Regions from separate parts of the Homo sapiens genome. Here regions 1, 2, 3 and 4 are each linked to region 5. The links are contacts of gene promoters, found by promoter capture Hi-C in blood cells and fetal thymus (Javierre and others, 2016). All regions are on one chromosome and are shown on one strand. Each heading gives the region's core, a stretch centred on a gene start or on the middle of the fragment in contact. The rest is flanking DNA. Distances are from core to core; before and after follow the strand shown.

The links. Contacts are between HindIII fragments. The CHiCAGO score rates a contact against its expected background, and 5 or more counts as called.
Region 1: a contact is called between a fragment that was not itself captured here and the fragment with the promoter of COLEC12 in region 5, in 2 of 17 cell types (monocytes and M1 macrophages). The highest score is 5.7, in monocytes.
Region 2: a fragment that was not itself captured here is called in contact with the fragment with the promoter of COLEC12 in region 5 in 3 of 17 cell types (neutrophils, M1 macrophages and M2 macrophages); the score reaches 8.0 in neutrophils.
Region 3: a contact is called between a fragment that was not itself captured here and the fragment with the promoter of COLEC12 in region 5, in 2 of 17 cell types (M1 macrophages and monocytes). The highest score is 6.6, in M1 macrophages.
Region 4: a contact is called between a fragment that was not itself captured here and the fragment with the promoter of COLEC12 in region 5, in 4 of 17 cell types (M1 macrophages, M0 macrophages, neutrophils and 1 more). The highest score is 5.8, in M1 macrophages.

The regions. Positions count from the first base shown.
Region 1 is chr18:165,213-168,099 of GRCh38, reverse strand. USP14 (ubiquitin specific peptidase 14) reads right to left here. Exons shown (of 16, transcript NM_005151.4): 3 at 1,281-1,313. Among named protein-coding and RNA genes, the nearest start is that of USP14, 8.1 kb to the right of the region's middle. The HindIII fragment of the contact is 966 bases long and covers 1,031-1,996 here.
Region 2 is chr18:225,730-228,529 of GRCh38, reverse strand. It overlaps THOC1 (THO complex subunit 1), which reads left to right. Exons shown (of 21, transcript NM_005131.3): 12 at 1,629-1,729. Among named protein-coding and RNA genes, the nearest start is that of THOC1, 41 kb to the left of the region's middle. The HindIII fragment of the contact is 4,135 bases long and covers 1-2,800 here.
Region 3 is chr18:829,433-832,137 of GRCh38, reverse strand. No RefSeq gene overlaps it. Among named protein-coding and RNA genes, the nearest start is that of YES1, 19 kb to the right of the region's middle. RefSeq lists an enhancer at 1,248-1,814. The HindIII fragment of the contact is 297 bases long and covers 1,127-1,423 here.
Region 4 is chr18:197,425-200,124 of GRCh38, reverse strand. It overlaps USP14 (ubiquitin specific peptidase 14), which reads right to left. Exons shown (of 16, transcript NM_005151.4): 8 at 2,429-2,509; 9 at 1,993-2,078; 10 at 809-923. Among named protein-coding and RNA genes, the nearest start is that of USP14, 40 kb to the right of the region's middle. The HindIII fragment of the contact is 1,836 bases long and covers 441-2,276 here.
Region 5 is chr18:499,275-501,974 of GRCh38, reverse strand. COLEC12 (collectin subfamily member 12) reads left to right here and starts at 1,274. Exons shown (of 10, transcript NM_130386.3): 1 at 1,274-1,467. The coding sequence starts at 1,461. The HindIII fragment of the contact is 13,067 bases long and covers 1-2,700 here.

The sequences.
Region 1 (2,887 bases), core at 264-2,763, 330 kb after region 5:
ACAAAAGTTAGCTGGGCGTGGTGGTGGGCGCCTGTAATCCCAGCTCAGGCAAGAGAATTGCTTTAACCCGGGAGGCAGAGGTTGCAGCGAGCCGAGATCGCGCCATTGCACTCTAGCCTGGGCAATAAGAGTGAGACTCTGTCTCAAAAAAAAAAAAAAAAAAAAGAGAGAAAAATCAATTGTATTTTTACATTCTAGCCATGAACACTGGAAATATTTTTTAATATTATTTTAAGCAGCGAACAAATGTTAAGTTCCAATAATTTAAGAGAAGTCATGCAAGGGCTGGGCACAGTGACTCACACCTGTTAATCCCAGCACTTTGGGAGGCCAAGGCAGGAGGATCGCTTGAGCCCTGGAGTTCAAGACCAGCCTGGGCAACATAGTGACACCCCCATCTCTACAAAAAATAATTAAAATTAATTAATTAACTGGGCATGGTAACACCCGCCTGTGGTCCCAGCTACTTGGAAGGCTGAGATGGAAGGACTGCTTGAGGCTGGGAGTTTAAAGCTGCAGCGAGCCATGACCATGCCACTGTGCTCCGGCATACGTGAGAGTGAGACCCTGTCTCAAAAAAAAAACCACTCATGCAAAACCTCTATGTTTAAAAACTACAACTCTGCTAAGAGAAAAACAGAGACCTAAATAAATAAGGAAGTACATCATATTCAGGGATTTTAATACTCAATATTGTTAAGATGTTTATTCTCCCCAAATTGAGCTACAGATTCAATGTAATCTCAAACAAAATCTCAAAGAGGAGAAAGTTGGAGAGCATAAGAACATATACTATCTTATTTCAAGACTCTTTTTTTGGAGACGGAGTCTCGCTCTGTTGCCAGGCTGGAGTGCAGTGGCACGATCTCGGCTCACTGCAATCTCCGCCTCCCAGGTTCAAGTGATTCTCCTGCCTCCTGCCTCTGCCTCCCGCCTCAGCCTCCCACCTCAGCCTCCCGAGTAGCTAGGATTACAGGCGTGCACCACCACACCCAGCTAATTTTTTTTTCAAGGCTTTTATTATAAAGCTTTAGTAATCAAAACCATTTGGTACTAGTGTAACTTTAATCTACTAGATCAATGAAACAAAAACCCAAAAACAAACCTATAACTACTTTTCAAGAAAGAGCCCAACACAAGTCAATGGGAAAAGGTAAGTATTTTCAACAGATAGTGCTGGAACAACTGGATATACACATGAAAAAAAGTCATCTGGAATGTATTTTGGTATCATAATGAGGTTACTGCATTATAATAAACGTTCATAAGATAATACTTACATTTTTTATTTTGATGTTTCCCCAATCATCATCCTGTTTCAAAGACAAACAAAAGACATTTAACCACCACTGTACAAGCTGAACACAATCTAATAATCAATTTATTTTAATGTACTTCAAAACAGAATAAAATTTATCCTATATGCAGATTTTATTTAAAATTATGGCAATTAAAAAAATTTTTTTTGGCCAGGCACAGTGGCTCACGCCTGTAATCCCAGCACTTTGGGAGGCTGAGGCAGGCAAATCACCTGCGGTCAGGAGTTCGAAACCAGCCGGACCAATATAAAGAAACTCCATCTCTACTAAAAATACAAAAAGTAGCTGAGCATGGTGGTGCACACCTGTAATTCCAGCTACTCGGGAGGCTGAGACAAGATAATTGCTTGAACCCAGGAGGCAGAGGTTACAGTGAGCCGAGATCTCACCACTGCACTCCAGCCTGGGCAACAGAACAAGGCTCCATCTCAAAAAAAAACAAAAATTTTTTTTAAACACAAGTGGTACTAAAGCCAGGGTTTCAAATAATTTGCTTCAACTGCATAAGGTAACACAATACAAAAGGCAGTAACCTGTATTTACAGCATCAAATACTAAAAAACACATAAGTATAAAAAAATACTTTTAGCAAGTACTAAAAAACACTTGACTAATGACAAATGATAGATCCTATTTTTTGGATGTTTGGAACCAGCAGAGCTAATAAATAACAAGCTTACGTGGCAAGAATGAAGAGTTAATGTCTATAACGCATCTATAAAGCAAGTATATACTTTCCTTTCAATATGTTGAATAAAAATCAAGAATTTTTTTTTTAAATGCATGATTAGTCCAGAGTAATATTTTTACTAACTACAGCTAGGCCTTTCCCCTCATAGGATAAAGTCGATTCTATATTACTCCCTTTTATAGAAGGTATCGGGTACCCAATATGCTTGTCTACCCTTCATTGGTGCCACTAATTATCTCTTTTATCTGCTTTAAAATGGAACGGTAACTTCCTAAAGGCCCTTCTCAATTTAAGGTCTATGACTGCTAAACATAATGAATGATAACTATAAATGCCCCCTAAGATCACTTACCCAAGGTCACACAAAACTGGGAAGTGAACACAGATCTGCTTGATGTATAAATCATATGCTCTTTTGGTGCCTTACTATGTTACTTAAACCTCTTTGACACTCATTTATAAAATTTCCTCATATATAAGATATGGATAACATACAGCTGAGAATTAAAGAAAATATAATAAAAGCCTGACATAAAATAAGTACTCAATAAATGGTAACCATTAGCAGTCACAGTTTCATTTAATTCGCATACTTCTATAATTCTCGACAGCATACCACTAGTACAGTGTTCAGCATAGATTAGGCTATGAAGTTCACTAAAGGCCAAAGGTTCATACTGTACCTTCGGGGGTAAACAAAGATTTTCCTCCAACGTGTGTTTTACTGCCCAGTGGGGGTAGCCTGTCTTTATCTCTAAAGTTAACTATAGATCTTTAGCATTTTATCTAACCCTTGAAGGAAGTATTTTTTAAAGCTATACTTATATTATTAAAAATAATAGAGGCCGGGTGTGGTGGCTCACGCCTGTAATCCCAG
Region 2 (2,800 bases), core at 51-2,550, 270 kb after region 5:
TTCCCCCTTACATTTTAGATGTTTAAATACCTACATAATATCCATAATATGTCTCTTAGCCCACATAACCTATTAATAAAAATACTTACTATTTGACACTTCAGGAAAAAGTTTGCTGACCCCTTATCTAGACTAAAATAGGATTATAATAAAATGGGATGGGACTAACAGGCAGAGAATAGACGGGTCAAGGGCCTTAAAGTCTCGGTAAGATCCAAATATTAGGTATATTGGAAGCAACTGAGCGAGAGACCTGGGAAGGATAGAGGTTGTGGTGAGATAGGATTGTGAGTTGAAGACTTCAGATCTGGGGCAGCTGTGAGTGACCCCAGGTCTAGCTGTGGCCACAGTAGTGGGTAGCTGGAGCAGAGATGGGCCTGTCCGTGGAGTTAAGGGCAAGGAACTAACAGCCTGAGTGGAGACAGTCAAGTTGCCCAGGGGCTGGAGGAAGGGAAGGCTGATGGCCGGCCATTCACATTTCCAATTTGGGATAGGAGAGTTAATATAAATAACAATCAAATATATTCAATCCTTAAACGTGAGGGAAACCTGACTGGAAGGCTGATCATTAATTTTTTTTTTTAAGACCTGGAGCCACAGTGTGGAAGGGGTTGCTAGTGAATAGGGAGGCTTGTGCGTGTTAGGTAGCATTAGTAAATGGTACCAACCACGTAAAGCAGAGCCACCAGCACTTGGGACATTGAACCAAAACCAATCTTCGACGCTTCCAGCTGCCTTACTGGCGATTCATTTAGAAGAACGTGGCTTTCCTTTGTTACTGTAGTTTTTGAAGGCAGAACTAGCATGAGTTTGTGGATACAGACTTCAGCCTTCCTTCAGTGTTCCATGCACATAATCAGAATGACCTTCCTTCATCGCCGCAGGTTATTCTTACAGCTGGATGGCAGGGTCGTTGAAGAACTTCCTCATGAGTGACCTTCAAGTCCTTTCTAATCCAGATTCTGTGATAATACAAGTATGATGCAATTTTCACTAAAAGCTAAAAAAAAAAGCCCATCTAATCAGAGATGATCTTCACCTCTAATTTCTTGTTTATTGTCAAGTAATACCTCTGTTGCAGGCACTTTATAGGGCTACAAAAATGAGTGGTCCCCGTTGATATTGTGCTGTTATCCGTATCTTCTTTAGCCATTATTTCTTCATATGTGAGAAAGTAGTAGCCTCAGTTTTACTTTAAAAAAAAATTTTTTTTTTAAATTTAGAGTCTTGCTATGTTGCTCAGACTGATCTCGAACTCCTGAGCTCAAGTGATCCTCCTTCTCAGCTTCCTGAGTAGCTGGGACTATAATAGGCTTTGTGCCACCATGCCCAGCTTACTTTTTTCTATTTCTGCTTTATTTTATCCTCATGTCTGGACCATAGATAGATCATTGTTATCCACCAGCAAGAATGTGTCATGGCATAAAACAGTCAAGAAATCTAAGTGAAACCTTGACTGGGCTGTCTTTGGGCTTGTGCGGTAATGCCTCACATGCAGTGAACTCTCAACAAATGGCTTTTAAATTGAATTGGAATCTTCCATTTCTATATTAGCACATTTTGTACCTTTAGGAAAAACTTGATTTTAATGTGTTGTTTTCGTATGTGTTTGCTTGTTTCTTGAGTAGCTGATGGATTTACAACTGAGTGACAGTAACTTTCGTCGACACATCCTGTTGCAGTATCTCATTTTATTCCAATATCTCAAGGGGCAGGTCAAATTCAAAAGGTAAGATAATATGGGTAGTAAACAATTTGTAAACAGTAGCCAAGAAAAAAAAGGACTTGCTTACGATTTTTCTTATGTATGTGTCCATTTCATGTTAAGGCTGTATCCCTAAAACACATGTATTGCAGCTGATACATTGAAGGCTTTTCGATATTAGGATATTTAAGGAAAAGATGTTAAATATATCTGTCAGTGTGAGTTTTTCCTGCCCAACTCCAGGGCTTGCCAGGAGTTGTCGTCTTTATTAGCAGGTGGAGGTCTCTGCTCCAAAATTCCGTCATTCCCTTCTCACCTCCCTCAGACCTCCTCCAAAGCTGATTTGCAGACTAAGCCAGTAATACATATCTCACAAGGTGTGGAGCTCTGCAGGACATTCAAGCTAAAAGATGCAAAGAAAATTTTTAAGCAAAAAGGAGTTCATTTATTTGGGGTTTCACAAAACCTCATTAGGCTCTCTACTGTCTATCTAAATACTTCCATCCATTTCCTCCTATCCTGTCCATAACTGAAGGTGGAGCCCACTGTTACTTAACGGTATTTGTGTTAAGGACACTGAGCAATGCCGTATTAGTTGTATAATGACTTCACTACCTGCTGGGTTTGAATCCCAGGCTCGTCATTTGCTGGCTGCAGTGCAGCTCTTTCAGACTTGTAATTTTAAGGTAGTAGCACATGGTAAACACTCAAAAAATGTTATTTCTTATCCTTCTATCTATTTTGGAGGTTTGGTATAGCATAGTAGGAAGATGAGGGACTTTGAAGTGAGACGTGGGTTTGAATTAAATCTTTATGGCCTTGGGCAAATCAGTGAGACACGGTAGTCTCTGTTTAATATGTACATGTACTTGTTCCGAGAATTCAATGAATAATGTATGTAAAGTGTTCAGATCCTAGCCATCAATATTTATTGGATGTCTTTAAATCACCTAGTGCATTATGAGAGCTCAGTTAGTGGCAGCTATTAACAATTTGGGTTTGCCTGTTGCCTTTTCTAGGGTTTGGGTGTTTTATTCGTTGTATTTTGAATGAATCTTAATGTAGCATGCCATACTGAATGTGCATCATGTATAC
Region 3 (2,705 bases), core at 26-2,525, 330 kb before region 5:
GTAAGCTTTCTTTGACTTAATGATGGCATCAAAGCACAAGGGTAGGGATGCTGGCATATTGTTAAAATTGTTCGATTTATCACTAGTTATTGTTGTTGATCTCTTCTGTGCCTCATTTATAAATTAACTTTTATCATAGGGATATGTGTGTGTCTATATCTACAAAAAACCGCAGTATCTATAGAGTTTGGTACTGTAGCGATTTCAGGCATCCACTGGGGATCTCAGAATGTATTCTTCACAGACAAGGAGGGACTACTGTATTATTATATGGAGGTTAACCACACTATTAGCAATAGAATTATAATAAAAACTTTCAAAAACATGGCGAAGCTGGTAATAATGTGCCTAACATCCTACAGCACCTCCCTATTGTCGACAGAAAGAGTCAAACTTTCTAAAATATGTGAAGAGTTTTATTCTGAGCCAAATATGAGTGACCATGGCCCATGAGACAGCCCTCAGGAGGTCCTGAGAACATGTGCCCAAGGTGGTCGGGGTGCAGCTTGGTTTTATACATTTTAGAGGGGCATGAGACATCAATCAAATACATTTAATAAATACATGGGATTGGTCCAGAAAGGTGGGACAGCTCAAAGCTGGGGCTTCCAGGCTATAGGTGAATTTAAACATTTTCTGGTTGACAATGAGTTTACCTTGTCTGAAGACCTGGGATTGGGCTGGGCGCAGTGGCTTATGCCTGTAATCCCAGCACTTTGAGAGGCTGAGGCAGGCAGATCACGAGGTCAGGAGTTCGAGACCAGCCTGACCAACACAGTGAAACCCCATCTCTACTAAAAATACAAAAATTAGCTGGGCATGGTGGCGGGCACCTGTAATCCCACCTACTTGGGAGGCTGAGGCAGGAGAATCGCTTGAACCTGAGAGATGGGGGTTGCAGTGAGCCGAGATCATGCTACTGCACTCCAGCCTGGGCAACAGAGCGAGACTGTGTCTCAAACAAACAAACAAACAAACATCCAAAGTGGCCGTCACTAAATGCTAATAAACACTAGAGGGCACAATTGAGTTGTGGAAAATTTCAGCCAATATTGCAAATGAAACAAGGTATGGACTCTAGCAAAAATTAATACACCAGAAAAATGGGTAGTGAAAATCATAAGCTTTGAAAACAATTGCTTTCTTTGTAAATCTGTTGATTAACCTTAGCCCTTTGAGATAATTGAATTAAAGTAGACTTAACACTTTAAATTTAATACCAAGCCAATACTGTATTCCAAAAATAAAGCATAGATACATTGACAAATAGGACTACTTACATCAAAAAACTAGTGGGGGTGTTCTCAGTGTTAAGAGTCAGTTTCTGTCTGAATTTTTCTTTCTTTAGATATTCCTGTCTTCTGGCAATGACGGTTTGGCCATGGAATTCACACTCATTCTAAGCTGGCCACTTGAGAAAGCTTGAAATTTCTAAGGTTTTGTTATTGTAAGAGGTGACCAGATGTTCCAAACATCAAGCTATACAGGAAGCTCTCCACCCACTCCAAATGTCATGCTGAGTTCTCAACAGACTTCCGTTTCCCGTTTCCTTTTTCCCCTCTCTCTGATTTTTTTCTTCAAAGTCTATTCAAAAGCTGCTGCCAAAACCATCTTCCTCTATTGTTGTTCTGATGACATCATTCCCTTCCCCAGCTCCCCTTGTCTTTGGTCTCATGACCACAGTTTGCCTTCATTTCCTTGGGCTGCCACTGTGCCTGCCTCTACCTCCTTTCCCCCTGATTTCCCGCTGCTTCTCACCAACTGTGACGCAGGATTATCACTGCTGATGTCCCAGTGCTGAGGTATCTATTATCTTCTAACAAAGAAGAGTATTCCCATTCCACTACCCAGACTTTCCCAGGTCTCTTCTAAACTCATTTTATTTATGTATTCATTGCTCACGAGTATACTAAGCACCTTCTGCATGTGTTCTAGGTACTAGAGGAGAGAGAGAGAGAGAGAAGAAGAAAAGACATAATCTTTTTTTTCTCTCTTTATGCCAGCTGCTCTGGCCAGCTTAAAAAAAGACAATCTTTAAGATCAAAATTGCCAGGAAGCCATTTAAGTTGGGGCTTTTGGAAACCAACTAGAACTTACTCTCCCTTAGAACCTGAAGGAATGAGTAGCAGGAGAAAATTATACAATGATACAAAATAACTATACCATTCGGGATAGTAGATTTGGGATAATTCTAATCATTTCATCACCTTGAGACAGGGTCTTGCTCTGTCACCCAGGCTGGAGTGCAGTGGTAGAATCACAGCTCACTGCAGCTTCAACCTCTCGGGCTCACGCGAGCCTCTCACCTCAGCCTCCCAAGCAGCTGGGACTACAGTCATGTACCACCACACCCTGCTAATTCTTTTTCTTGCCCAAGCTGGTCTCAAACTCTTGAGCTCAAGCAGTCCGCCTGCCTCGGCCTCCCAAAGTGCTGCAAGTACAGGCTTGAGCCACCTCGTTTGGCCTCTAGCTCAGTAATTAATCTGACACTTGGTGACTGGCATACTGGTTTGCATTTCTCATTCCTCAGTTTCCTCGCCTGTAAAATGGGGGTAGTGACATCTACCTATTCATCTTTTAAGATTGTTATACGGATCAAATGTGATAATAAAATAATTTGAAAAATATAAAGTATTATTTGGCATAACGTAATATTATATTTGTGCCACTGAAATCTAAATATGTCATGATGCAAACATACTGTA
Region 4 (2,700 bases), core at 109-2,608, 300 kb after region 5:
TTTAAAATAAAGCAAGGTACAGCACAAAGCACTAGGTGCTTCTTCACAGTGTGAAGCAGGAACACCCAGTGATTAAAAAGTGAGATGTCCCAATATTTGTTAGCATATGCAACCATGTCAATAATGCTTTTGTCTATGAAATGAAGAGCTAGTTGAAGTTTGTTTGATTTCTGACTATACAGTTGATTTTGTTAGTCACGGTAATTATGTTCTACAAAGTCACCACAAGCACTGAATCAATGAATACTGAACCACTGCTCCTAGGGGAAATACAGGATTAGATTCCCGCCAGCCTTTGATCACAACATTTTCATCAACCAATCAATACATAACCTTGTTTTATGTGTGTTTCTGTTTAAGGACACCTTATTTCACATATTGTGTTGATTAATTAACATTGAACTCAGAGCCAACAGTGCAACGCAGGCCCAACTGAAGCTTCTCTAACAAGTATATTTTCTCAGTAAGGCACATCACAGCCTTCCCACACCTAGAAACACTAGACAGCACTCAGCCCTGTGCTTGGGGGGTCATCTTAAACAGTGAAATAACCAACAAAAAGCAGAAATTTTTTTTTAAAACAACAGTTCTAACATTCCTGCTAAAATGGTATTTGTTTACCAAGCTGAAACAAGAAGGCCAAGTACTTGTTTGACCTCAGATGGGACTGTGTGTATCGGGCAACTCAAAATGCGTATTGCTCTGCACATGTCTACAAATGACCATTAAAGCCCAGTGAATAATGACTTTGGCTTACTCGCAAACATGGAATTCACAAACAACAAGGATGGACTGAGATTGTCCTTACCAATTTAAGTCCTGTAAAAAGATACTTGACTTCCTGATTGATAAAACAGCTAAGCTGAAGTTGATTTTCCTTTCCTTTGGTGACTTCTTCTTCTTCAGATTCTGTACATTTCATGCTTTGTAAACTAAGATAAGGAATATGCCAACGGGTATTCAATTTGTTATATACTCTTGAATATAATACATTATCCTAATTCCATTAAAATTAATAGTATCATTCATTGGCATTTAAAACCTTTTAGTCTCCCAAGATTCATTTCAACATACTTAAGAATGTTCATTTGGCTACCAACAATTCTAGAAACAACAATGAGTAATAAATGTGTATTAAAAGATAAACTGCAATAAACTCTAAACTATAAGCTGGTATTTAGTATGGTCTTATAATGGTCTTAGAAGCCCAAAGGTACATAAATTGTTTCTAAGTTTTTCTAACCATGACCTAGAAGACAGTACTTTCCTGATTCATGTTTTATTAACTGGTTCAATCTCATGTATAGTTGATACACACCCTTTTATAAAATTAAAAAATTCTTTTTTTATTTTAAAAGTTATTATTAACAGTCACCTTGACATATAAGAAATTAATTCTTTATAAGGTGAATGAAAATGAGGTAGACTCTGCTAAAGATGTTCTTAGGAAAAAATAATAAATATCCTTCAAGAAATAAATTTAAAATAATTATATTAATCAAAACATAATGAATAATCCCATTATCCTTCAAGATCACTCCAATAGGTATATTTTTCCAAATTCCTAATTTCCATTATTGTATTTTTTTAGGTATAAAAACCTCTGGGCTGGGCGCGGTGGCTCACACCTGGAGGCCAAGGTGGGTAGATCAACTAAAGTCAGGAGTTCAATACCAGCCTGACCAAGAGGGTGAAACCCCATCTCTACTAAAAATACAAAAAATTAGCTGGGTATGGTGGCATGCACCTGTAATCCCAGCTACTTGGGAGGCTGAGGCAGAACTGTTTGAACCCAGGAGGTGGAGGTTGCAGTGAGTCAAGATCACACCATTGCAATCCAGCCTGGGCGACAAGAGCGAAACTCCGTCTCAAAGAAAAAAAACCTCTGAAGAATTTTTCTTCTACCCACCACCAATCAATCAGCCAATGATGCTATTTATGCCAATTCTAATAAGGTATGAGTATAGTCTATATCTTGGCTCATAAGGATACGTAGTTTCAAACTCAACACCGAAGAACTGATCGATTAAACTTTTCTTTTTAGAAGGTGTCGCTGCCGATGCAGATGAGGAGTCTGTCTGCAAAAATTAAAATAAAAATTCCAACTTTATATAAATATTAATGTAGATTTTCTTCCACACAATCCAGTTTAGTAATACATATTTTTTTAAAAATGTAGTCCCTTACAGTAAAATCCTTCAAAAAACATTACCAAAAATCAACAATGAATTAAGTTTAATAAATAATACATTAAATTTAAATGTCGTATGCAAGCTTCCAAATTCTGACTACAGATTGAGCATCTAAAGTATTTAAATACACATCTACCTATAAGATGGAACTTATTTTAAGCCTTTGAGGGGAAAAAAAATAAAAAAAAAAATCAAGGTATAACGAAAGTCTATAATCACAAATATATTTCAATTACCTCTTTAACAGAATCATCCTCTATTGCTTCCAATTTCTGTTGCAATACTCGCATCATTTGTATCCAACATTCATTAGCATCCTGTAATGTAAAAAAAGACAAAGTAAGTAATCCTGGCAGTGAATGATCTACAAAGTTCTTCCAAAATAATCACTGTCTCCTAGGCAAGAAAGTGGTTTCCTTCTTTAAAAATATTAAGCCAAATAAGACATACGATCTTCCAAAAAATAAAGCATTCTAGAATAGCTTATTCATTCAACAGACATCTGCTG
Region 5 (2,700 bases), core at 25-2,524:
GAGATCTGAAACATGCTCCAGGACCAGGACCCTGTAGTTTCATCAACTGCAGACAGTGCGGGGGAAAAAGCATTTCGGTCTTTTCATTTGTTCGTCATGTTCAAGGTGCCCCCTTATGTTAAAAAATTAAAAAAAAAAAAAAAGAAAGAAAAAAGAAATCTCCTGGAACGGAGAATCTATGAAATGTTTCAATATGTATTCATTTTGGGGCACTACCTTTTACTAGAGCAAAGAATCCCCTACTTAGAGGGAACCAATGGATTGGTTACACCGTGTTACCAAGTCCTCAGGAGGGCAAACTGAAAAGCTGCAAGCACTGCCCGGCCAGTGTTCGATTGCTTTTGGTGGACTAGTGCGTCTGAGTAGCCATCTGTAATGTCAACATGTGGCAGAAAGTTTCTCCGCACCTCCCTCGCCCCAGCTCCACTCACCACTTAGTGTATGTTTTAAAGCAATAAAGCGATGGGTCTGCTTAGAGGGGGTTCTAAAGAGAAAGATAAACACGGGCTTTATTAAGTATACAGCAGGGCAATGTGACGGGCGACCACGAAGGGAACTCAGGGAGCCTCTCAGCAGCCCGGCCTCCTTTCGTAACAAAACTGGAGTCAACCCGATCATTTTAGGGGCGCTGGGTGGAAGGCTGGCTTTTCCAGCCAAGGCAGGATGTGCTGGCTTTTTCTCTGGAGGTGTCCAAGAGCGCAGAGAGAGTGTCTAATGGTGACTTCGGATTCTGGCCACTCGGGCTCTCCCTGGGTGACAGAGAGAGTGTTCCCTGCTGCTTGGTCTCCTTCAGGCGTCAACCAGCGCACGCACTTGGAAACTCTGAACCCGGAGGACGTTCTGTACCTCTCCATGCCCCAGAGCCGTTTGGGGAAGGGCCCACCTTACCCCCCGCCACCCCCGGGGCACAGCAGCTCCCCATCCTCTCGCCCAACACTTGCTAGGTAGTTTGGGGTGTAGAAGCGACCCCAGCAGCAGCGGCACCTTAGGTGCTCGCCGAAGGTGAACGCTGGACCGCCCCGGGAAGGGCTTTGCTCCCGACTTCATCCCGACGCTGGTGCAACGGGAAAAAGAGAGAGCCCGCGCGAGTGGGGCCAGGGCGCGCAGGAGAGGGCGGGCGAGAAAGTGCCCGGCGAGGGCAGGCGCGGGCCGAGGGCGGGGCGGGCGCGGGAGGGCGCGAGAGGGGCGTGGGCGCGGCCGCTCGCTCGGCCGGGTCGGGCCAGGGGGAGGGGCGCTGGGAGAGCGAGAGCGGCGCGCGCGGCAGCCCCGAGGCAGCAGAGCGCGGAGCCGGGAGCGCGGGGAGCGCGGGCCGGCGGCGGCGAGGGAGGACGGGGGCGCAGACGGCCGGCGCGCGGCGCGGCTACCATGGGCGTGCGGTGAGCAGCCGCTCGGGACGACTTCCTCGGCTGCGCGGCGCTCGCGCGGAGCTCCCCGGCCGGCGGTGCGTCCCCACGGTCACCATGAAAGGTAGGGCGGCGGCAGCTCCGCGGGGCTCTGGGCGGGGGGAACGGGCTTCGGGGCGCGCGGGAGGCCACGGAGGTGCCTCCCGCGCGAACCTTCCCTTGGGCTGCGGGCCCGGGGAGTCGGGGCTGCCAGGGCGCCGGGTTCGTGCGCGGACACTGGGGGCGCACCCGGCTCCCGGGTCAGGCGCGGCTGGAGACCTCGAGGTTGGGGTTTTGAAGCGCGCAAGTATTCCCCTCCCCATCGCGTCTTTGCAAGTAGTTTGAAGCCCTAAGTCGTTGTTTACGGATTCCCGTTTCCAACTTTTTAATTGAAAAAACCTGCCGAGGAGAGTGGAGGCATCGCCATCCCTCCCGGTCGCTTTTCCACGCCGCAGCGCTCCCCACGCTCGCCCAGTCCTCTCTCCTCCCGCCTCTAGCCGTTTCCCGGCCCGAGCGGTCCCCGCGCTGGCGGCCGGGTGTTTTCTCCGGGACTGGGGATGTTCTCCGTGCGCCCTCGCCACATCTGGCAATGATTAGGTGCCCGAGGAGTTCAGCTGGCTCGGGAAGTGCATTTGGCATCTTTCTCCATCAGATTCACCGACTGGAAAATAGTTGCCCTCGGTTCCGCGTCCCTTCCACGTGCCCGCCTTGGGGTGTGCCCACTGGTGTTTTGGGGTGACACACCTCAGCTGGTTAGTCGCCCCCTGCGCGGTGTCCTCTGCAGGCCGGTTTATGGAAGTGTCAGATGTTATCGTACTTTAGAAAGAAGCACGAGAAGGACTGCAGGGCAGCCTTCTGTTTAGTGGAAACACGGAGATTTGTCAGCGGAATCCTGATTTATGTATGAGATAAGTAACCGCAGCGGAGGCATCAAAGAGTCGTTCAGGAATGGGCCCGCGTGGTGTTTACACAAGGCTTCGTGTGAGAGTTGCTGGTTCTGTGCTAGGATAACACAGCCCTGCGTGGGTGCGAAATGCCATCTGACCGCGGTCACCCCGCTTCCAGCCGCCACAGACCTGGCGATGCAATCGCTTTGACTTCTAGGGTTGCCGTCCGAGGGAGGCGCCCGGGAAGCCCCAAGGCGCTTGGAAAGTAACTTTTGGCTCTGGAAAGTTTTTTTTCTGAAGGGCAGCTCCCGCGGAACTAACCGGAGCGATGATATCCTACCAATTCACTCCCTTTCCAAGGGCGTTAGGTGTCCACGTCGGGAGACCTCGGGAAGGGAGGTGACTGATGGCCAGGTGAAAAGTGGTCTGCC